7 separate regions of the Homo sapiens genome follow, and all the other regions are linked to region 7. Evidence: promoter capture Hi-C in 16 types of primary human blood cells and fetal thymus (Javierre and others, 2016). All regions are on one chromosome and are shown on one strand. Each heading gives the region's core, a stretch centred on a gene start or on the middle of the fragment in contact. The rest is flanking DNA. Distances are from core to core; before and after follow the strand shown.

Region 1 (3,017 bases), core at 42-2,541, 340 kb before region 7:
ATAAAATAACCTTTATGGTAGAGACTGCTAATTGTCCTATTACCTATTCTCCCCTTGTCTTTCACAGCAAAAGAATCTTTGCTTTTAAGTTCAAATAAAGGCCACACTTCCCAGCCTTCCTTGCAGCTGAGTGTAGCCATATGACTAAGTTCTGGCCAAGAGAAGTAGAAATGGGGTATGCAAGTTTTGATTCATGCTCAAAAGTCAGAGACATGCCGTTTCTTCACCCTGCCACTTAGAAAGTACATGAGCTATTTGGACCATACGAACTAGGGGTGGTTAAGCAGAACCACCAAACCAGCCCTGGACCACCAACCTCCAGATAATACAGGACAGAAAAAAAAAACTTCCCTCTCATTCACGTCACCACTATTTTTGGTATCCGTTACATACAGCCAAACCCATGTACCAAGCAGATCATCCTACATACCAACACCAGAAATGTATCGTATGAGAAAGGAAAATTGAGACCCAATCTCACTTATGATTATAGATGCAAAATCCTAAATAAACTGTTAGCAAATGGAATCAAGTATTATACTTAAGAAAAATTATGACTAAGTTGGGTTTATGTCATGATTGCAGGGATGACTTTAACATTAGAAAATACATTAATGTAAGTCTCCACATTAAGAGATTAAAAATTAAAACCATATGATGATGCCAGAATAAATTCAATACCCATTTATAATAATAACGCTTAATAATCTAGGAATAGAAAGGAACATCTTGACCAACAAGCAAAAACCTACTGCAATCTTATTTTTTTTTTTTTAGTGGGGTTTCACCACGTTGCCCTCACTGGTCTCAAACTCCTGAGCTCAAAGGATCCACCTACCTCGGCCTCCCAAAGTGCTGGAATTACAGGCATGAGCCACCACACCCAGCCTGCAATCTTATTCTTAACATTAAATTATTCTTAACAGTAAATGAATGAACAGTAAATGCTTTAAAATTGTTCCTGTTAAAGTCAAACACAAGGAAAGGATTCTTGCTATTATCACTTTATTCAACATTAATTTGAAGGTTCTGACCATTACACTAAGGAAAACATTTTTTCAAGGTCTAAGGATTGGAAAAAAACAAGGATATGATACAATTGCCTCCAGAGAAGAAACAAGCAGGGCAAAACACAAGGCCTATCAGGATAAAAAGCTGATGCAAGTAAGTCGGGGGCTGATCTGAGGCAACAAGCTTCCTCCCACTGCAAATCCACAGAGCTGGAGGTTTAAATCCAGGGAGACTGCCTTTTCCCAGAGCTGCTTTTTATTTTTTTATTTTTTTATTTTTTTTCCACATGTATGAGTGAATATTTTATTTTTTTATTTTGTATATATATAGATAGATTTTTATTATACTTTAAGTTCCAGGGTACATGTGCACAACATAAAGCTTAAAGGCAAATTCCCATCCAGGATGTTGCCCAGCGGAATGACCGCAAACAAAATGGTGACACTAGTTCTGCAGTGCCTTTGGCTGTCCACACTGAGGATTTCCCCCAATACCTCCAGATGCAGTAGCTGAGAACAACCCCCACTCCAGCCCAGGAAACACAGGCTCACAAGCCAAAATCACCAGAACCTGAGATGTACAGAAATTGTAACAAAATACCCCCCAAAAAGACCAACATGAACCATTTGAAGCATAGTTATTGAAACTGGTAGACCAAAAAGTTAAATTAAGGTAATAAAATCCTCAAAAAGATAAAGGAGAGATTAGTGATAGAAATAAAAACAAGAAGTCATAAAAAAATAACTGTCCAGGCGCAGTGGCTCACGCCTGTAATCCCCGCACTTTGGGAGGCAGAGGCGGGCAGATCACAAGGTCAAGAGATCAAGACCATTCTAGCCAACATGGTGAAACCCCGTCTCTACTAAAAATGCAAAAATTAGCCGGGTGTGGTGGTGTGAGCCTGTAATCCCAGCTACTCAGGAGGCTGAGGCAGGAGAATTGCTTGAACCCAGGAGGCAGAGGTTGCAATGCACCAAGATCGTGCCACTGCACTCCAGCCTGGGTGACAGAGTGTCAATAAAATAATAATAAAATAAAATAAAGAGCATAATCATTGGGAAAAATAAAAGATGGCTACAACTGGAGAATAAATGGATGAGCTAAATGATCAGACTGAGAAACTCTCCCAGAAGGCAGAAGTAGAGAACAAAGAGAATATTTTTAAAGGAGCTAAGTGCTATGGAGAATAGAAGTAGAGTGCTCATATCAGGATAACAGGATTCCCCAGACAGGGAATTAAAAAAAAAAAAAACAGAGAGGAGGAAATAATGAAGTAATAACATTGAAACACTTCTGAGAATTAGAGAAAAAGATCTCAGATAGAAAGGGCTCATAGAATGCTAAATAGGGTAACTGAGGAAAAAAACACATTTAGACTCATATTGAAGTGGAAGAAGATCAAATTCAATTAAAACTCTGAACATTTCCAAAAGCAATAGATTGCCTACAAAGGAATTGAGAAGTAGGTCCGTTGTGCACTGGTTTCAACCTGTCTGAGTCAAGTTAAACAGACACACACAGACACACTCAAGTTACATGAAGCAGGTTTATTACTTACAGATTGAAAGCAGGGGACAACAGAAGCCTCAGATTCATGGCAGGCTGGTACCCCAAGGCTCAGAAAAGCTGCCCAGGAACTACCAGTCATACTGGATTAGAAAAAGAGGAAAAAAAGAAAAAAGAAAAGCTGCCCAGGGCAGATGGAGTCTCAGTTACATGTGCCCCACTTGCATCTCAGCTGAGGGACTCCAAAAAGCATCCTAAGGCTGGGCATGGTGGCTCACGCCTGTAATCCCAGCACTTTAAGAAACTGAGGCAGGAGGATTGCTTGAGGCCAGCAGTTTGAGACCAGCCTGGGGAATATAATGAGACTCCATCTCTAGAAAATAAAAAACAGGCCAGGCGCGGTGGCTCATGCCTGTAATCCCTGTAATCCAACACTTTGGGAGGCCAAGGCAGGCGGATCACCTGAGGTCAGGAGTTTGAGACCAGCCTGGCCAACATGG
Region 2 (3,010 bases), core at 16-2,515, 280 kb before region 7:
AGGGTTTCACCATACTAGCCAGGATGGTCTCGATCTCCTGACCTCGTGATCCACCCGCCTCGGCCTCCCAAAGTGCTGGGATTACAGGCTTGAGCCACCGCGCCCAGCAGTCAAAGGTTTTCAATGCTAAAATATACAGAGTAGAGTGACCCTCATTTCCACAGCACCTAAAGTTTTACCAGTAAAGTGGAGCAAGAATACTGAGTAATTTGAGTTAGGGGTTCTCTTTTTCAAATTTACAGTGAGAGATAATCCTATTCAGACCTGAAATAAAACCTGCTCTTTATTATTCATAGAATTTATATGCAAGTCCGGACAGTGGCTGTGGAAGGATATGTCCAAGCTGTGGCTGGGCGTCTGGAGGGCAGTGCCATGCAACTGTAAGGGCTTTGGTAGCATTGCATGGCTATGCATAAATTCAGCAGTTAAATATAACACCCTTACACCCCCACCCTGAACCATTGGGCTCACTGACCAAAAATAAACAAGGGTGTCTGCTTCGGCTACCTTAAGCCTTGGAGTGACTGGATTCCTCCCTGACTCAGGAAAGCAGCAAAAGGCACCATTTTCCAAGAGTAAATGGAAGTTGCTGAAGATGAATCTCTGACAGATCATTCCAAAGGACCTTTCAACAAGAAGCTTTAAGTATAGGCTCTGCAGGAAGTAGTCCCTATCCAGAGTAGTACTATTAAATAGAATTTTTTTATGTTTTTGGTTTGGTTTGGTTTGGTTTGTTTTGAGACGGAGTCTTGCTCTGTCACCCAGGCTGTAGTGCAGTGGTGCAATCTCAACTCACTGCAGCCTCCGCCTCCCGGGTTCAAGCGATTCTCCTGTCTCAGCTACAGGCGCCCGCCACCACACCCGGCTAATTTTTGTATTTTTAGTAGAGACGGAGTTTTGTCATGTTGGCCAGACTGGTCTTGAACTCCTGACCTCAAGTGATCTGCCTGCCTCAGTATCCCAAAGTGTTCAGATTACAGGCATGAGCTACCGTGCCCAGCCAGAACTTTCTACAATGATGGAAATGTTCTGTATTTGCTCTCCGGTACAGTAGCCACTAGTCACATGTGGCTATTGAAAACTTTAAATGTGACTAGTGCAATTAAGGAGCTTAATTTTTTTTAATTTAATTTTAGGCCAGGCCTGTAATCCCAGCACTCTGGGAGGCCAAGGCAGGCGGATCACTTGAGGTCAGGAGTTTGAGACTAGCCTGGCCAATGTGGCAAAACCCCATCTCTACTAAAAAAAAAAAAAAGCCGGGCATGGTGGCGCATACCTGTAATCCCAGCTACTCAAGAGGCTAAGGAGAATCTCTTGAACCCAGGAAGTGGAGGTTGCGGTGAGTGGAGTTGGCACCACTGCATTCCAGCTTGGGTGACAGTGAGACTCTGTCTCAAGAAAATAAGTAAAATTTGCTTTTAATTTAGGCTGGGTATGGTGGCTCACACTTGTAATCCCAGCACTTTGGGAGGCCTGGGCAGGTGGATCACCTGAGGTCAGGAGTTCAAGACCAGCCTGGCCAACATGACAAGACCCCGTCTCCACCAAAAATAAGCCAGGCGTGATGACAGCTCCTGTAATCCCAGCTACTCGGGAGGCTGAGGCAGGAGAATTGTTTGAACCTGGGAGACGAAGGTTGCAGTGAGCCAAGATCGTGTCACTGCACTTCAGCCTGGGCAACAGAGCGAGACTGTATCTCAAAATAAAAATAATTGAAATAGCCACATGTAGCTATAGAGGCTGCCTTACACAGCACACCTCTAGAAGGGAAACTAAGTGGTATAGTTGACATCCTTAACTTCCCTGTTAATATTAAAGGCCGGTATTGGTGGCACTTAAGGATTGGAATGGGTAAAGAACTTCCCAGCACTGTACAGTTCTTTTAAAGCACAAAGCTTGGGAGAATTAATATATGCAGGATAACTGAACGCAAGAGACTTGTGGAATGCAGTTCTAACCTGATAATTGTGTGTTAATCGGGAGTAACAGGACAGGCCGTTACGGTTGGTTACACCTACTTATGCTAGATGCATAATGTTTGGAGCCTTCCCCACTGATGAGAAGCAATTTATGATCTTGTGCTAGAAAGTTAATAATGCTTCACAGCATCTTTTTGAGAGGTTGATTAGAAAACACACACATACACGTTGGTAGTCACTTGTGGGTGAAGCCTGAAGGGGCTATACAATTTATTTTCTTTCAGATTGACTGATGGCTTTATGGACAGCCAGGCTTACTAGGAGCTTGGTTGTGTTCAGGGCTATTGCTGTCCCTTTTTCCTTTGAAGGAATTTAATTCTCTGAGATGTAGTCTTAATGGTTTTCTTTTGAGAACAGATTCTTAAAAATACCCTATCTCTGTAGTGTGTCCTTGTTCTTATATATGGCCCTGAGTTTTGTGATCACCTGAATAATTCTAACATACGTTTGGCTGGCTGACTGTGGAGATACATTTGAGTTACATGTTTATTTTTAATTTAAGGTCATCATTGTTTTAAAGGAGCTGTTTGCAAGTGCAGGCATGGAATTAGGGATTTTTAAGAAATGTAAGGAAAGGAGATTTGACTTTCTTGTGTTTATTTACATCTTAAGGTAAAAAGTGGACCGTCTGGAAATAGATTCTCAGAGGAAAAATGGAGCACACGGGCCTTTTTGAGAAATCAATCTTGTTCTTAAGTCACAAGAACTCAAGTGAACTTGTAATTTAAGTTTTGCCCAGAGTGTGATGAACTTCCTATGGTGTTTGAGTAAGCCTTTGAAGACAGTGGTAGTCCATGGGCAGGTATGAATCAAGTCATATAATTGTCAACCTGTAGTTCAAAAGCAGTACAATCCAGGATTGAACTATAGAATGTTCTTACGAAAACTTAAGTTTCAACTGGCAGTGTATGACTTCTGTAGCCAAACTAGTGAGGTAATTTGTGGAGATGCCCATTTCATGGGACCACACTTGAGCTTCTTGGAGTTTCTGCTCTGGATCAAAATTCTGCTGCTTGTATAACATGTTCTGA
Region 3 (3,166 bases), core at 20-2,519, 340 kb after region 7:
TTTTGGTTTCTTAGATAATTATGACTATTATTTTATTTTTTGAGGCAGATCTTGCTCTTTTACCCAGGTTGGAGTACAGTGGAACGATCATAGCTAGCTCACTGCAGCCTTGAACTCCTGGGCTCAAGCAATCCTCTCACCTCAGACTCCCCAAGTAGCTAGGACTACAGGTGTGCATCCCCATGCCTGGCTAAGTTTTAAAAATTTTTTTAGAGACAGGGTCTTCCTATGTTGCCTAGGCTGGTCTCAAAATCCCAGGTTCAGACAGTCCTCCTGCCTCAGCCTCTCAAATAACTGGGGTTATATATAGGCCTGAGCCACTACTCCTGGCCCCAAGAATTATTTTCTCTGATTTGATTAAATCCCTAACTCTGAGTGTGTTTGCTGGTCTGGCCTGGTTAGAGGAAAGTTTCCTGACTCAATCTGGGACTTTGAGAATAAGTGGCTGACATTAGTAGCTTTTTGCCCTAGTGTATCTTCTGTGACCTTCAAGTATTTGGTACCTATTAAGATGAAGGATATATGGAAACGTTTTAGAAGATACCTGTTCCTGCCCTCATAGACAAAGTCTAGATAAATTTCATACCGATGACACATCCAAATAACACAGTTACACATTTTTAATTTGTGGTCACTACCTTAAAACCCTGACATTGGAGAAAAGTGAAGTATTCTTTCCAGAGGAGATTATTTTTAAGCCAGATTTTGAAGAGTATAAGAGACAGAGACTTGTAGAATAGAGAGTAAAACTGGTTGTTCGTGTATGTTTTGTGTCTACTCTATTGGTATCAAGAAGCCAGCCTACTAGAATCAGTAGTATTTAGCTCAAGGAAAGCTTCAAGACCTTTCATGAATCATTTAATCTCTGTGTACTTTACTGCTTTTTCCTTAAATAAAATTGAAGGAAATAATCCGTGTCCTGTTCTAACCCAGAATGAGGATGAATGTTCTGTTGAATTAGCTTGTCTCTTGGCTCCTTGTTTTGCTAACATCATGACCAGTTCCTGTTATTGCTATATGTCTGTATCTTTCAGCCACAAGTATATGGTTATGATGACTTGCAGATGCTTCAGACAAGATTTCCATTGGTGAGTATGTGGGATAGAGCTTTGGAAAAGAAAGTAGTCTTAAAATTAGTGTTGGGAGAATTATCTCCGTCACAGACATAGCTCTTTCCCATCCCAGCCCTCCATACACTCTGATTTAAGGCATATTAGAATATAGGGATTTGGGGGAGGGTTTCCAACAGAAGATAACTTTTTTTTTTGAGACAGAGTCTTTCTCTGTCGCTCAAGCTGGAGTGCAGTGGTGTGATCTTGGCTCATTGCAACCTCCGCCGCCTGGGTTAAAGCAATTGTCTGCCTCAGCCTTCCGAGTAGCTGGGATTAAAGGTGCCCACCACCACCCCCAGCTAATTTTTTTTGTATTTTTAGTAGAGGCGGGGTTTCACCATCTTGGCCAAGCTGGTCTTGAACTCCTGACCTTATGATCCACCCGCCTCTGCCTCCCTAAGTGCTGAGCTTATAGGCATGAGCCGCCGCACCCAGCCTTTTTTTTTTCTTTTTTTAAATCAGAGTTGTGGCATCTTAGTAAATACATTTTAACCTATTCTATAGCCCAGTAAAGTACTCTGGAGCACTCAGGGTGCTTTCTGTTTGTCCCAGACACTTTAAATTATCGAATGATCTGTTTTCTCAGTAGAATAAGCTTGGTATAAACTGATAGGGATGACACCTAGAGGGTTGAAAATATTGGTCCTCGTGGACTTTGATGTATTCTCAAGTGGGCATACCCGTAGACCTTGTCTGACTGTGCTCATGGCCAGGCAGGGGGGACAGTGTATGCAAGAGTAATGTGGAGTTTGTGCTAACTCTAGCCAGCTTAATTAGTGACTGGATAAATTGCACAACTCTCACATTCTTCTGTTTTTTCCTCCGTGGAAATAGTACTCATGCTGGGGAATGAGTGACATTGAATCTCTGCTCTTTTTTCCCCTCTTTTCTAGGATTACTACAGCATCCCATTTCCCACACCCACTACTCCGCTGACTGGGAGGGATGGTAGCCTGGCCAGCAACCCTTATTCTGGTAGGATTGGGATGGGACTAAATAAATAAAAAGGGAGATAGTGTTGGGATTGATGGCAGACACCTGATTGGTAGCAAGAAGGGATGTGATAAATCAGGATTGGTAGATTCAAAATCCTGCTAAAGTTGGGCATGTCATGGCTTTTCCTATTCATCCCACTTTGTGTTGTCTCCCTGTGATTTCTAGATGATATCTTAGCCAGGCATGGTAGCACACACTTGTAGTCTCAGCTACTTGGGAGGCCAAGGTGGGAGAATTGCTTGAGCCCAGGAGTTCAAGACCAGCCTGGGCAACATAGCAAGACCCCATCTCCAAAAAAAGTGATATCTTGACTTAGTTTCAAGCCATTTGCTAGCTTTTTCCAGGAAATACAGTGGTTGAGGTGGTCTTCTCTGCTCATCTCTGCCCCTTTATGCTACTACTCACAGTGGCAATCTCACTGCCTTGCCACTCCTTCTTTTACCTGACCTATCATTGTCCTCATTGACTTACCGTTTTCCCTGATCCATCGTTGTCCTTCAAGTCCAGCATGGGGTATTCCCCATGGAGGAGAAGAGGGGAGGGAAGAAGAGGGAAGATGAAAGAGAACACAAGTGGGCAGAGAAATTGTGCAGGTGCCTTATTCCAAGAGCCTCCTGCCATAGCATTGCACAGTTATTCAACATTAGTCCTTGACTTGCAGCAACTGTGCTAAGTGTATGCTGAGCAACAATAATTGGAGCCACTAAGAAATGTAATTCAAGGAATTGAACTTTAATAGTCTTTGAACAGGATCTCCTGGAATCATGTGAAATCAGAAGAGGTAATTCTGTATTGGTATTGGGGTGAAAGAGGCAGGTACATTTAGCTTCTCCTGTCACAGGTGACCTCACAAAGTTCGGCCGTGGGGATGCCTCCTCCCCAGCCCCGGCCACAACCTTGGCCCAACCCCAACAGAACCAGACGCAGACTCACCATACCACGCAGCAGACATTCCTGAACCCGGCGCTGCCTCCTGGCTACAGTTACACCAGCCTGCCATACTATACAGGGGTCCCGGGCCTCCCCAGCACCTTCCAGTATGGGCCTGCTGTGTTCCC
Region 4 (3,250 bases), core at 571-3,070, 280 kb after region 7:
AAATAGGGAGAGGAAAGCTCTACTTTCAGAATGGATCAAAGAAAACACGCAGGGGTTGGATAGAACACATATTTGAATACCTACTGTGTACTAGACACAGCCTCCCACTCCTGTTACTAACTACATTATACCCTTGTTACATCAAAAGCCTTTCCCAGTAAAAGATGCACTTATAGTAAATTGATCTGGAAACTTCATCAAACTTCAACCCAGCCCCTCCTTCCAACTCTGCATACCTCTTCTACTTTTGTCATCTTTTCCACAGACATGTCTATAGATTTGCTTGATACAGTCTGAGGAGACTGACAGGCTCCTCTGTTTAGTTCAGTAACCAAGGTTTCAGTAGTCATAGTAACATTTACACCTCCAACAATAACCCTGGGCCTAGGAGTTGATTGGCCACCTGGCCTGTTGCCCCAGAAACCTTGAGAGAATCCTTGTTCTGCAGCCTTCTGTTGGTGACACAGGCATCTATGAGCAAGGGCCACAGTCCTGATTTTAGGATTTCTTGTGCTAGGGTCCCAAGGAGTATGTGTATGGTCGTAGGTCCAGGGTATGCACACAGTCCCACCAATTCTCTGGAGGCAAATCCTCATGCCCTATACCCTGTTAGAAATGTGCAGATAACATTATCAAATGCCTGTTTTATTAAAAGACAACTATAAAGGACTGATTCATACGTTTTATTTGATAATAGTTCATTTTATTAAATAATTTATAAAGTCAGACCAGTGCATTGGGCTTGTTAGGGGAAACCATTCCTTCCTACTGTCACATAGCCTGGCAGATTATATCAGGTGCCAAAACATTCCCTTTTATTCAATTTATTAATGAGAGTGTGGAATTAAAGTAGATCCTTGCATGTCAGGAAAGCTGCAACACATCTGGTTTAAGTGGAGCACAAAGGTAAGTTATTCCACATTCACCAACTTCCCCACTTGACCTCCCACCAGTTCCTGTCTGCTTTTTCCATCAATCAACTCTAAGATGCCCTAAACCCAAACAGTTCCCATTCAACTGTGCACAAAGGTATAGATATGGAAGACATCTCACTCCAACTCTCACCTTTGGAATTAAATAAACCTGGAACAGGGAAGGTGAACTATGGCTGAAACCAAGTGAAGATTTTTAAGAAGCTTTGACAGAAACATTAAGAATAACACCTGAATGCAAATCCAGAAAAAAGCGCTACTGGGGGAAAATAGTCTTAGCCAATGTTCTAAAAATGCTCATAAGGAAGGGTTGGGGAATTACCCTTTAGACACAAGCTCTAAGAACTCTGGATACAACGGGAACTTGGATGGATACAGTCTGGGCCTGCTGGGCCAGATGTTCCGAGGGCGGCCCGGCAAGCAGCCTGTCTTGCACATTGCAACTGACTGGCTTAATCTACGGCAAGAGTCCTTCAGCTCCGTCACAGAGTACTCTCCAATGTGTTATAGTTATCCTTAAAGCTCTTCAATTCAAGGAAGTGCTTGGCACGTTTACTCTTCTGACTGGAGGGGAGGTATGTCACCTGGATGGTTGTTGGGGAGACCTCAGGGGACTGAGTTAGGTCTTTGGCTGCTGACTGGTGATGTCGCTGAGAGCTCCCAATTCGTGCTTTAACCCTGAAGAACAGAGAGGGGAGGTCATTGACAGAATGAGGACTAATCAAAGAAATCAGGGCTTATCCCAGGCCATAAATGCAGCAATAGTCACAAATAGTTATTTGTGTCCTATCTGTCCTATTTTGTAAACTAGTTACTAAAACCCCATCTAGTAGCTTAGAAATACAAGAGGCTGAGCGCGGTGGCTCACGCCTGTAATCCCAGCACTTTGGGAGGCCCAGGCAGGTGGATTGTTTGAGGTCAGGAGTTCGAGACCAGCCTGGCCAACATGGTGAAACCCTGTCTCTACTAAAAATACAAAAATTAGCTGGGAGTGGTGGCGGGTGCCTGTAATCCCAGCTACTCGGGAGGCTGAGGCAAGAGAATCACTTGAACCCAGGAGGCAGAGGTTGCAAGCCAAGATTGCGCCACTGCACTTCAGCCTGGGTGACAGAGCAAGACTCCATCTCAAAAAAAAAAAAAGTAGCAGAGAGGCTGGGCATGGTCACTTATACCTGTAATCCCAGCACTTCAGGAGGCAGAGGCCAGAGATCGCTTGAGCCCAGGGGAGTTTGAGACCAGTCTGGGAAACAAAGTGAGACCCTATCTCTGCAAAAAATTAGCCAGGTATGGTGGCAAGCACCTGTAGTCCTGGTTCCTCAGGAGGCTGAGGCAGGAGGATCGCTTGAACCCAGAATTCGAGGCTGCAGTGAGCCATGAATGTGCCACTGCACTCCAGTCTGGGCGACAGACTGAGACCCTGTCTCTCTCTCTCACACACACCCTAAAAAAGTAGCAGCACTCCAGCCTGGGTGACAGAATAAAGGCCCTGTTTGGGTACCCTGACACACACCTACTCATACCAAAAACAACTAGCAGCAGAGAAACCAATTTCCCAGAGTTCTTGCCTCTGGCTCAAGCTTTTTTTTCAGAGACAGGTATCCCCAATATAGGTATCACCTTGTTTTGCAGATTAGGAAACTAAGGGTCCAATAATTAGCTTGTATGAGGTCACAAAACTAGTTAAGTGACAGACCTGGGATTCAAACCTAAGTTTGTCAGATTTCAAAGCCTATACTCTTCACTAAACCCAATGAACATTCCTAGAAACTACAAATCAAACATAATTTTTTGTTTTTGAGATGGAGTCTTTTTCTCTGTTGCTCAGGCTGGAGTGCAGTGGCACAATCTTGGCTCACTGCAACCTCTGCCTCCTAGGTTGAAGCGACCTGTCTCGGCCTCCCGAGTAGCTGGGGATTGCAGGTGCATACCACAATGCCCAGCCAATTTTTCTATTTTTAGTAGAGACAGGGTTTCACCATGTTGGCCAGGCTGGTCTTGAACTCCTGACCTCAGGTGATCCACCCGCCTCAGCCTCCCAAAGTGCTGGGATTACAGCCGTGAGCCACCATGCCTGGCCTTCAGAAATAATTTTTAAAAAGATTGTGGTAAAATACATGTAACATAAAATTTACCATCTTAAGAATTTTTAAATGTATGGTTCAGTAGTGTTAAGTATATTCACAGTGTTGTGCAACCAACCTCCACATTTTCATCTTGCAAAACTGAAACTATACCCAGTGAACAACTCCCTATTTCCCCCACTCTCCAGCCCCTGCAACCATCATTCTACTTTCTGTCTCTGAGTTTGACTACCTAGG
Region 5 (3,483 bases), core at 744-3,243, 260 kb before region 7:
ATGGCTCGAGCCCAGAAGTTTGAGGTTACAGTGAGCTATGATAACATCACTGCACTCCAGCCTCAGCAACAGAGTGAGACCTTGTCTCTAAAAATGAAAGGAAAAATAAGTGAACTAAGGAAACTTTAAAATTTATTTTTATGGCCGGGCGCGGTGGCTCATGCCTGTAATCCTAGCACTTTGGAAGGCCGAGGCGGGTGGATCACGAGGTCAGGAGATCGAGACCATCCCGGCTAACGTGGTGAAACCCCATCTCTACTAAAAATACAAAAAATTAGCCGGGCGTGGTGGTGGGCGCCTGTAGTCCCAGCTACTCGGGAGGCTGAAGCAGGAGAATGGCATGAACCCGGGAGGCGGAGCTTGCAGTGAGCGAGATTGCACCACTGCACTCCAGCCTGGGTGACAGAGCAAGACTCGGTCTCAAAAAAAAATTTTTTTTAATTTTTATTTTTTGAGACAGGGTCTCACCCTGTCACCCAGGCTGAAGTGCATGCAGTGCCACGATCTTGGCTCACTGTAGCCTCAACTTCCTAGGCTCAAGGTCCTCCTACTTCAGCCTCCCAAGTAGCGGGGACCACAGCTGTGAGCCACCATGCCTGGCTAATTTTTTTTTTTTTTTTTTTTTTTGAGATGGAGTCTCGCTCTGTCGCCCAGGCTGGAGTGCAGTGGCGCGATCAGGGCTCACTGCAAGCTCTGCCTCCCGGGTTCACGCCATTCTCCTGCCTCAGCCTCCCGAGTAGCTGGGACTACAGGAGTCCGCCACTGCGCCCGGCTAATTGTTTGTATTTTTAGTAGAGATGGGGTTTCACCGTGGTCTCGATGTCCTGACCTCGTGATCCACCCGCCTCGGCCTCCCAAAGTGCTGGGATTACAGGCGTGAGCCACTGCGCCTGGCCGCCTGGCTAATTTTTTATTTCCTGTAGAGACAGAGTCTCACTAGGTTTGTTGCCCAGACTGATCTCGAACTCCTGGGCTCAGGTGATCCTCCCGCCTCAGCCTCCCAAAGTGCTGGGATTACAGGAGTGAGCCACCATGCCCTGCCTGCATGTTTATATTATTCAGCCTTAAAAAGGAATGAAATTCGGATACATGCAGTTTTTTACATATTTAATGCCATTAAAAATATACTCTTTAGAAATAGACCAGGCGTGGTGGCTCACGTCTGTAATCCCAGCACTTTAGGAGGCTGAGTTGGGAGGATCACCTGAGCCCAGGAGTTCGAGACCAGTCTGGGCAACAAACATAGTGAGACCTCTTCTCTACAGAAAATGAAAAATTAGTCAGGCATGGTGGCTAACACCTGTGGTCCCTGCTACTTGGGAGACTGAAGCAGGAGGACCTCTTGACCCCAGGAGGTGAAGGCTACAGTGAGCCAAGACGGTGGCACTGCACTCCAGCCTAGGCGACAGAGAGAGACCTTGTCTTAAAAACAACCAACCACAATAAACTCTTTAGAAATAGAAAACGATACTATGAATATAATGTGGCTTTCTCATAAAGTGTTTTTGTTTTTGGTTTGTTTTTGTTTGGTTTGGGTTGCTTTTTTTTTTTTTTTTTTTTTTTTTGAGGCGGAGTCTCTCTGTTGCCCAGACTGGAGTGCAGTGGCGCGATCTCGGCTCACTGCAATCTCCGCCTCCCGGGTTCAAGCGGTTCTCCTGCCTCAGTCTCCCAAGTAGCTGGGTGCCCGCCACCATGCCCGGCTATCTCATAAAGTTAACATGGGAAGGCTATGGACAACTGCAGGTATTCGCGTTTATTTTCACCTTTAAAGAAAACGAAAAGTATCCACTCCAAAAACTGGTTCCTTTCTACAACCTGAACTTTGGAGATTTTCAAGACCAGCCACAAGGCCTCTACTCCTACGGCCTGGCCCTCCTCCCCGCCCGGTTCGCGCTAGACTCCATTTCCCAGAAACCCCGGTGTCTTGGTGGAGACAGCATTTCCCGGGCGCCCCCTCACGGGGCGGGGCAGTGCGGCGCGGCTCCGGTTCCCGGCGGCCCTCGCGGCAGGTTTCGGGCTTCAGGACAATTCGTGATGGCGGGGGCTGGTTCCGCCGCTGTATCGGGGGCAGGGACCCCGGTGGCGGGGCCCACAGGCCGCGACCTTTTCGCCGAAGGGCTGCTGGAGTTCCTGCGACCCGCTGTGCAGCAGCTCGACTCTCACGTACACGCCGTCAGGTGCCCGGGAGGGAAGTTGGGGGCGGGGCCTGTCTCTCTGGCTTTGTAGGGGCGGGGCCAAGAAAGTGTTCTGGCTGGGAGTGGGCATAAATTTAGGAAACTGATTCGAGGCGGGGAGGACAGGCGGGAAGGCCGCAGGTGGAGGGTTCAGCGGAGGCCGGCTTCTCTCAGTACTTGGTAAATACGTAGGGGAGTTCGTTTCCTGAGCTCCGGTAACTGCCTGACCTTGTAGGCCTTGTACCTCTTTGCAGAGAGAGCCAGGTAGAGCTCCGGGAACAAATTGACAACCTAGCCACAGGTGAGTGAGCATCCCTGTGTACCCGGAATTCTTCAGCCCACTTTCAGGACCTTAGGTTTTTGCCAACCCCTGGGCTGAGTTTCTGTCACTTGCTTCCAGGGCATCAGGGCTGCCAAAGGACTCCTCCTTTCAGGGATGTCTTAAATCTCTAATGGCTGTGGCCCGTTTGGGTGCAAGTGTTTTCCATCCCATTACCAGCCTGCTTTCCCTCAGAACAAGAGATAAGCCGTTAGATCTTAGCTGCACCTTACTTCCATCCCCAGAACTGTGCCGCATAAATGAGGATCAGAAGGTGGCCCTGGATCTTGACCCCTATGTTAAGAAGCTACTTAATGCCCGGCGACGCGTTGTCTTGGTTAACAACATTCTACAGAATGCTCAGGTAAAAGAATATCTTACCAACAGTGATTCTTTGCCCTTTTTTGTAAGTCCTCAACACAGTGAAAGCCACTGTAATTTTAAAATTCTTTGGGGAAAGGGAAATTCACTTCTCCCAGTACTTGAAAAATACCTAGGAAAATTCGTCTCATTCTCACTATTCAGTTGCTGCCATTTACATTCTTGTGTGTGTGTGTGTGACAGTCTCCCTCTGTCACCCAGGCTGGAGTGCGGTGGCTCAATCTCAGCTCGCTGCAACCTCCGCCCCCTGGGCTCAAGCAATTCTGCCTCCGCCTCCCGAGTAACTAGGACTACAAGCGTGCACAACGCCCAGCTAATTTTTGTATTTTTTTGTAGAAGTAGGGTTTCTCCATGTTGCCCAGGCTGGTCTGGAACTCCTGGGCTCAAGTGAGCTTCCCACCTTGGCCACCCGAAGTGCTGAGACTACAGGAGTGAACCACCACACCTGGCTATTTATTTTTATGATACAAGGTCTATCACCCAGGATGGAGTGCAGTGGCATGATAAAGGCTCACTGCAGCCTCTACCTCCCAGGCTCAAGCGATCCATCCACCTCAGCCTCCCAAGTAGCTGGGACTACAGGCATGCACCACCATGTCCAGCTAATTT
Region 6 (3,375 bases), core at 541-3,040, 310 kb after region 7:
CCCAGCTTTCATCTCTAGTGTCCTGATAGCACTCCATATTGATTAGATATGAATGCTCTACCCTTCTATAGCATTCCTGGGAGATGGTCGGGAAGAAGAAGGGAGTCTCAGGCCAGAAGGATGGTGGCCAGACGGAATCCAATGAGGAAGGCAAAGAAAATCGAGACCGGGACAGAGACTATAGTCGGCGACGTGGTGGGCCACCAAGACGGGGGAGAGGTGCCAGCCGTGGACGAGAGTGTATGCATGGGGCTTTATCAAAACCAGCTGTGGGTCAGTAATGTCTAGACTCTAGGGATGTGCCAGGGCCCTGCTAGTCAGGACCTAGGAACCATTATATTATCCTTTTGCTTTTCTTGCCGTCGTCTGTTCTGAGACCTTGACATCTCTTGCATGTGGCCTTTTCTACCAACTGCCACCAGTCTGGCATGAGATTACCCTGTAGTCATTTATAAAGTTAAATTTGACTTGCAGCTCTCCATTAAGGCACATTACCATTCCCTGAGAAACATGTTCCCATCCTTCCAGCTCATTTTCTCTTCGTTGTTTTTTTAATTCCCAATACCATATTACATACCATTTATATATTTGTATATATCCTGTTGACTGTGCTCTGGCCATCTGTGGTTTGGTTTTTTTGTTGTTGTTGTTGTTTTAATTTTTATTTTTATTTCAGTTCGAGGTCAGGAAAATGGATTGGATGGCACCAAGAGTGGAGGGCCTTCTGGAAGAGGAACAGAAAGAGGCAGAAGGGGCCGTGGCCGAGGCAGAGGTGATCAGTTTGTTGGGGGATGGATATTGGGGGCAGGTTACTCTTTATTCATTAATGGTCTGCTTTATTTTTTTTTTTTATTGGAGGTAGTCTCACTCTCACCCAGGCCGGAGTGCAGTGGCACAGTCATAGCTCACTGCAGCCTCAGACTCCTGGGCTCAAGTGATCCTCCTGCCTCAGCCTCCCTAGTAGCTAAGACTACAGGTGGCCGCCAGTATGCCTGGCTAATTTTTTTTGAGATGGAGTCTCGCACTGTCACCCAGGCTGGAGTGCAGTGGCGCGATCTTGGCTCACTGCAACCTCTGCCTCCCGGGTTCAAGCGATTCTTCTGCCTCAGTCTCCCAAGTAGCTGGGATTACAAGCGTGCGTCACTACGCCCAGCTAATTTTTGTATTTTTAGTAGAGATGGGCTTTCACTACATTGGCCAGGCTGGCCTCGAACTCCTGACCTAAAGTGATGCGCCCGCCTCGCTAATTTTTAAATGCTTTTGTAGAGATGGAGTCTCAATATGTTGCCCAGGGTGGTCTCAAACTCCTGGCTTCAAGAGATCTTCCTGCTTGGCCTCTCCAAGTGCTGAGGTTATAGGTGTGAGAGACAGCACTTGGCTCCAGGGTCTACTTTGTTTAAAAACAAATTAACATGAAGTCTAGTTAGTTAATTCCTGAGGTGTCATGCATATACTAGAGATTGCAGAAGGGGAGAGTGAGAAAGAAGGTAGATGTCATTTCCTCTAGTCTTTATTGCTAGTATTGTATTTGCTTGAGGACATGGTAGTCTGAGAGCAAAAGAAAAATCTCTCAACAGTAATGATTGTCCTACTCTATTACTGATGTGTAACATGGGACAGAGAGAAAGAACATCTGATAGTATCAACCACTTTTTATTCCAGAGCTGCCTCAGCTGGCAGGGTAGTTTTTTGTATTTTTGAGGCAAGGTTTCACTGTCACCCAGGCTGGAGTGCAGTAGTGCGGTCTTAGCTCACTGTAGCCTCTGCCTCCTGGATTCAAGTGATCCTCCTGCCTCAGCCCCTCAAGGAGCTGGGACTATAGGTGTGTGCCACCACACTCAGCAAATTTTTGTACTTTTTATAGAGATAGGGTTTTGCTCTATTGCCTAGGCTGGTCTCGAACTTCTGGATGCAACCAATCCGCCCGCCCTCAGCCTTTCAAAGTGCTGGGATTACCACCGGGAGCCACTGTGCCTGCCTGGCAAGGAAGTTTTATATCAACTTCTAAAATACATCTCTCTTCTCTTTTTCTCATTCTTTCTTTAGGTGGCTCTGGTAGGCGAGGAGGAAGGTTTTCTGCTCAAGGAATGGGGTAAGTTTCATTGATCTAGTGTCTTAATTTTTTTTCCCTTAAAAATTACTGTAGGCAGCCTTAACCAAAATGATCAGAATGATTTCTAGACTGGTCAGAAAGATATGGGGACTTAGGGCTCATTTCTTAGGGATAAACCTTTACCACCTGGATCATTACCTATATTTTATATATCTTTATTTGAATCAATATACCTGTTCTTTTCTCAGAATATCTTAGATATATGTTGAGATTATACCATGAAATTTTGGGTAGAGTGATAAGTGAGAAAAAGTAGATGACACACAGGATTATAGAATGGGGCCATGACAGATTTGTACTAGGAAGGATGCAGTCAAGATTTTGATTCTTTGAGTTAATATTTGCCAAAGCTGCTTAGAGGTCAGAGACTCTTAAGTTTTATTTTTTCCAGAACCTTTAACCCAGCTGATTATGCAGAGCCAGCCAATACTGATGATAACTATGGCAATAGCAGCGGCAATACGTGGAACAACACTGGCCACTTTGAACCAGATGATGGGACGAGTGAGTGACCATTTATCATTCATTTCTTGTCTCTGGGAATCTAAGGAAATAGTTTTTTCTGATTATACTTACATTAAAACGTGGAAGAATAGTGTTTGGTTATGGAGATAGGGTGAGAAAGGGCTGGCAGTTGTATTACTGTGTGTACTGTTTATGTAACGTGCATATGGGCACATTACACATGTTATTTCGCTTAATGCTGCTTGATATTGTATGAAATAATCATTATTTATCATCACTTTCCAGATGACAAAACTAAGGCCGAAAGAGAGGTTATAAATTTGCTAGTATTTGAACTCAGCATTGTTTGACCCTGAAAGTCCATGCCCTTTCAACTATGCTATGTCACTGCTATTAGGTCCAAGTGTATTTTCTAGTGTTTATGTTAGGGTAGTGTTGCCTTTTGAAAAGATAGCCAGAATTAATCAAGCCACTGCTTGTAAAGATGAACAAGGCCTAGAATCAAAGTCCACACTATCCATTTATTTGTTTTCTGTTACTGAGATAAGAATATCCTTTTTTTCCCTTTATTTTTGGGACATGTCAGTATCTGAACAAGAAGATTTCGAAATCTCTCTAGCCTTTCTGGTGCCCTGTTGAACAGCCTTCTTGGTGTGATGGAGTATTCAGGGTTTGAATAAGATTACTTTTTTGTTAACTGACTTTGGTGCCTGCGTCTGGGCTGGATATAAATGTTTAAGGATATGTTAAGCTGTGGTATACACCTAAGATGTGTTTGGGGGTGGATACGTGTGCCA
Region 7 (3,116 bases), core at 124-2,623:
CACACACACGCACACACACACGCCCCCCAAATAAGCATTTATCAGAAATGAGAAAACTGGTTCTCAGGAGGCTACCTGATTTTCCAGGGGACAACAGAGAAAAGGTTGCTAGCTAGCTCAGTTAGCATCCACATGCCACCCACCACCAAGCCTCCATCTCCACCTCACTGCCAGCCCTATGAGCTAACATCTTGTGTTTGGAAGTTGATGCTGGGGAAGAATCCAAAGAGGCTACCATACCTTTATGAAACGGGAAAGCTGTACCGGGCGCGCGAATGGCACCTGAACCTCTGCACTCGCATGAGTGGCTCGCTCCTCAATGTAATTGAGAGCAGGGAGGCCAAAAGTACTCTAAGTCCCGGTGTGGTTAGGGAAGGGTAAGTTCCACCGACCCTCAGGAACTGAACTGGAAGACAGATCCAGTGTGTCCCACAAGCCCAGTCGCTGTAGAAGCTAAGTGCCCACATAGCCTGAGACAATTCTCTTCCCCTACGGGAGGGCGAGCGAACGGTGGACGACGAAATAAAGGGGTAAGGTTATGCGCTCCTGATCCCTTTCCCTAAATAAAGATAATTATCTGGTGCTTCCTTTACCCTTAGATTCCCCATTCGTCCCATCCGCCCGCAAACACAAGACTGAGCAGGGAGCGGCCCCCGCACCCTGAGGGCACCACTGGGGGTGGAGAGAGTTAAAAAAAAAAAGGGGGGGGCGCGCTAGAGAGGAAAGGAGGGGAGCATGGCGGGCATGAGGCAGGGAGTGAAAGCGGGGATGGCGGGGGAAACGGGGCGTGAGGGAGGGGAGAAAGAGTACAAGGAGACGAAATGAAGGGACACGAGCTGGGGGCGCGCGAGGCCGAAGTGAAAGACCGGGTCGCGCGCGCCAAGGGGGGAGAGGATGAGGTGAAGAAGGAGCGCGAGGCGGGGGCGCGCCGTGCCGGGGTGGGGGGAGGGGGACGCAAGGCGGGGGCGCGCGGGCGGGCGTCGGCTCGCGGGCGCTTCCCCTCCCCCCGCCCCTCCACCTTTCCCTTCCCCCACCTCCGCCACCACTGCCTCCTCCCAGCCTCCTTCCCTTCCTCGCTCCTCACCGCCCCCGGGCGGGCGGGCGGCCAGGCTGGCCTAGGCCAAAGCTCCTCACCTGGCGGTGGCGGTGTAACTCCCGGCTAGCTCGCCTCCTCAGGCGGCGGCGGAGGCGTCGAAAAAGGAAGAGGCGACGGCACAGGGGATCCAGACCCTGCTGACGGGACTAGGGACGGGGGTAGGGGAGGGGGGCGGGCCGGACCGGGGCGGGCGGGCGGAGCAGACACTGCGGTACAGACGGGGGCAGCGGCGGCGGCGACGGCTGCACCGGCGGCGGCGGCACCACACAAACAAGGACGCTGATTGGGCAGCTGCCAAGCGCCTCGGCTCCGCCTTACCCACACGCCACGACGCCCATTGGGCGACCTAAGCCGGCCACCCCGCCCTCATCTTCTCGGCCATGCCAGTAGAAGACTAGATGCCGGGACTTCACCCCACCCTTGAAGAATGAGTGGCCGGAGAAGTGATGATTGGCGTGCTTAAAACCCAATCATAAACGGAGGAGGGGGGATGGTCTAGCGGGGGCGCGTTAATGGGTACCTCTGCCAGTCCCAGACACATCCGGGTCTTCGACAGCCCATTAAGTGTCGGGGGTCAAAAAATCGCTTCAGGCTGCAACTTTACCTTAGAGACGTTTTGGTCCCCAGGCAGCCGCCGTACCCCAGTCTCTCCAAACCGGGATTCCCCTTTGGCCATCTCTCATTCTTTCAATTCTAAAGATGGAGACTGGCGAACGGCGATGGGGTCTGCGGTGGGCGGTGTTTCGTCGCGACAGACTCTAGGAAATTTCACGATAGAACTAGCTTTAGGCGCTTGAGCCTTGCCGTCTTTTTGGGGTGTGGCCTGTCTCCGTCTGCCAAAGGCTTTGAGCTTCCTGGTGTTCATCGTACCTCCGCTTGGTCCTGTCGTGACTAAACCACGACAGCAGGAAAAAAAAAAAAGCAGCTAGCCAAGTTGCTGAGGAATTACGGTGTGCAGAGCCCTCGCAGCTCCTTCTCTTGGGAACTCCTGGTCTGGTTAGGTTCTCAGCGAGGAAACAGCCTCCCACCCCGCCCGATTCCACCTAATTAACTCAAGGGCCAGCTCCTTTTGCTGGCCTCCCTGCTTCCACGGAGCAGTTAGGCCCGCCTAAACTCAGCGAGCGTTTCTGGAGCACCTTGAGGATAGGGACCAAGTAACAGAGTCCGGGTGTTAAGGTTATGATAGTAGTTAACGTTTTTGGAAAGAGACTGTGTCAGGCTCTGTGCTAAGAACTTTACATGAAGTATTTATTCCTCATGACTGTGAGGTAGGTACTGTTATCCCTACTTTACAAATGAGGAAAATTAGGATCAAAAAATTTGTCCAGTTACACGTTAAGTGGTAGAGCTGAAATTTGAACCCAAGTAGATGAGGAAACTAAGGCTCAGAGAGGTTAAGTAACTTGCCAAAGGTCAGACCGCTAGTTAGTGACTAAGCAGTGGTTTAAACCCAGAAACAACTGGTTCCACAGGCATTTTGTTATTGTTGTTTTCTCACTGTGTCTCCCAGGCTGGAGTGCAGTGGTACAATCTCAGTTCCTGCAACCTCCGCCTCCCAGGTTCAAACGATCCTCCTGCCTCAACAGCCTCCCGAGTAGCTGGGATTACAGGCGCGCGGCTAATTTTTGTGTTTTTAGTAGAGACGGGGTTTCGCCATGTTGGCCAGGCTGGTCTCGAACTCCTGACCTCAGGTGATCCTCCTGCCTCAGCCTCCCAAAGTGCTGGGATTACAGGTGTGTGAGCCACCACGCCAGCCTCCACAGGTATTTGAACATGTTTTTTAAATTATTTAAAAGTCATGCTGTGCAATGGAAATGAAATTATAATGGAGGACATGGCAACTTAAAGCCGTAGGTAGATCCTACACAAACACAGACGCACCCATTTTTTTTTTCTTTTTTTTCTTTGAGACAGTCTCCCTCTGTCGCCCAGGCTGGAGTGCAGTGGCGTGATCTCAGCTGCCTGCAATCTCCACCACCCAGGCTCAAGCCATCTTTCCACCTCAGCCTCCCAAGTAGCT

What was found. Contacts are between HindIII fragments. The CHiCAGO score rates a contact against its expected background, and 5 or more counts as called.
Region 1: a contact is called between a fragment that was not itself captured here and the fragment with the promoter of GATAD2B in region 7, in 1 of 17 cell types (total B cells). The highest score is 7.2, in total B cells.
Region 2: a contact is called between a fragment that was not itself captured here and the fragment with the promoter of GATAD2B in region 7, in 3 of 17 cell types (naive B cells, total B cells and monocytes). The highest score is 6.4, in naive B cells.
Region 3: a fragment that was not itself captured here is called in contact with the fragment with the promoter of GATAD2B in region 7 in 6 of 17 cell types (total B cells, activated CD4 T cells, total CD8 T cells and 3 more); the score reaches 8.5 in total B cells.
Region 4: a fragment that was not itself captured here is called in contact with the fragment with the promoter of GATAD2B in region 7 in 1 of 17 cell types (total B cells); the score reaches 5.8 in total B cells.
Region 5: a contact is called between the fragment with the promoter of SNAPIN here and the fragment with the promoter of GATAD2B in region 7, in 1 of 17 cell types (M2 macrophages). The highest score is 5.2, in M2 macrophages.
Region 6: a contact is called between a fragment that was not itself captured here and the fragment with the promoter of GATAD2B in region 7, in 4 of 17 cell types (total B cells, total CD8 T cells, naive CD4 T cells and 1 more). The highest score is 7.0, in total B cells.

The regions. Positions count from the first base shown.
Region 1 is chr1:153,584,024-153,587,040 of GRCh38, forward strand. No RefSeq gene overlaps it. Among named protein-coding and RNA genes, the nearest start is that of S100A2, 20 kb to the left of the region's middle. The HindIII fragment of the contact is 198 bases long and covers 1,193-1,390 here.
Region 2 is chr1:153,639,072-153,642,081 of GRCh38, forward strand. The region is part of intron 3 of CHTOP (chromatin target of PRMT1); the gene reads left to right. Among named protein-coding and RNA genes, the nearest start is that of CHTOP, 6.5 kb to the left of the region's middle. The HindIII fragment of the contact is 1,256 bases long and covers 638-1,893 here.
Region 3 is chr1:154,257,943-154,261,108 of GRCh38, forward strand. It overlaps UBAP2L (ubiquitin associated protein 2 like), which reads left to right. Exons shown (of 27, transcript NM_014847.4): 21 at 1,035-1,088; 22 at 2,006-2,087; 23 at 2,950-3,166. SNORA58B (small nucleolar RNA, H/ACA box 58B) reads left to right here and starts at 1,785; the gene lies at 1,785-1,920. The HindIII fragment of the contact is 872 bases long and covers 834-1,705 here.
Region 4 is chr1:154,206,039-154,209,288 of GRCh38, forward strand. LTAP1 (lipid transport auxiliary protein 1) reads right to left here. Exons shown (of 7, transcript NM_001098616.3): 7 at 682-1,610. The coding sequence ends at 1,415. CFAP141 (cilia and flagella associated protein 141) reads right to left here and starts at 295. Exons shown (of 4, transcript NM_001010979.3): 1 at 237-295. The coding sequence starts at 269. The HindIII fragment of the contact is 1,373 bases long and covers 1,135-2,507 here.
Region 5 is chr1:153,656,710-153,660,192 of GRCh38, forward strand. It overlaps SNAPIN (SNAP associated protein), which reads left to right and starts at 1,994. Exons shown (of 4, transcript NM_012437.6): 1 at 1,994-2,177; 2 at 2,429-2,475; 3 at 2,739-2,857. The coding sequence starts at 2,035. RefSeq lists an enhancer at 1,760-1,839. The HindIII fragment of the contact is 14,460 bases long and covers 1-3,483 here.
Region 6 is chr1:154,234,520-154,237,894 of GRCh38, forward strand. UBAP2L (ubiquitin associated protein 2 like) reads left to right here. Exons shown (of 27, transcript NM_014847.4): 5 at 72-240; 6 at 677-772; 7 at 2,047-2,092; 8 at 2,505-2,617. Among named protein-coding and RNA genes, the nearest start is that of UBAP2L, 15 kb to the left of the region's middle. The HindIII fragment of the contact is 7,636 bases long and covers 1-3,375 here.
Region 7 is chr1:153,921,599-153,924,714 of GRCh38, forward strand. GATAD2B (GATA zinc finger domain containing 2B) reads right to left here and starts at 1,374. Exons shown (of 11, transcript NM_020699.4): 1 at 1,135-1,374. It overlaps LOC101928059 (a long non-coding RNA gene), which reads left to right and starts at 1,775. Exons shown (of 4, transcript XR_922160.3): 1 at 1,775-2,364. RefSeq lists silencers at 1,158-1,477, 2,155-2,449 and an enhancer at 1,608-1,847. The HindIII fragment of the contact is 8,959 bases long and covers 1-3,116 here.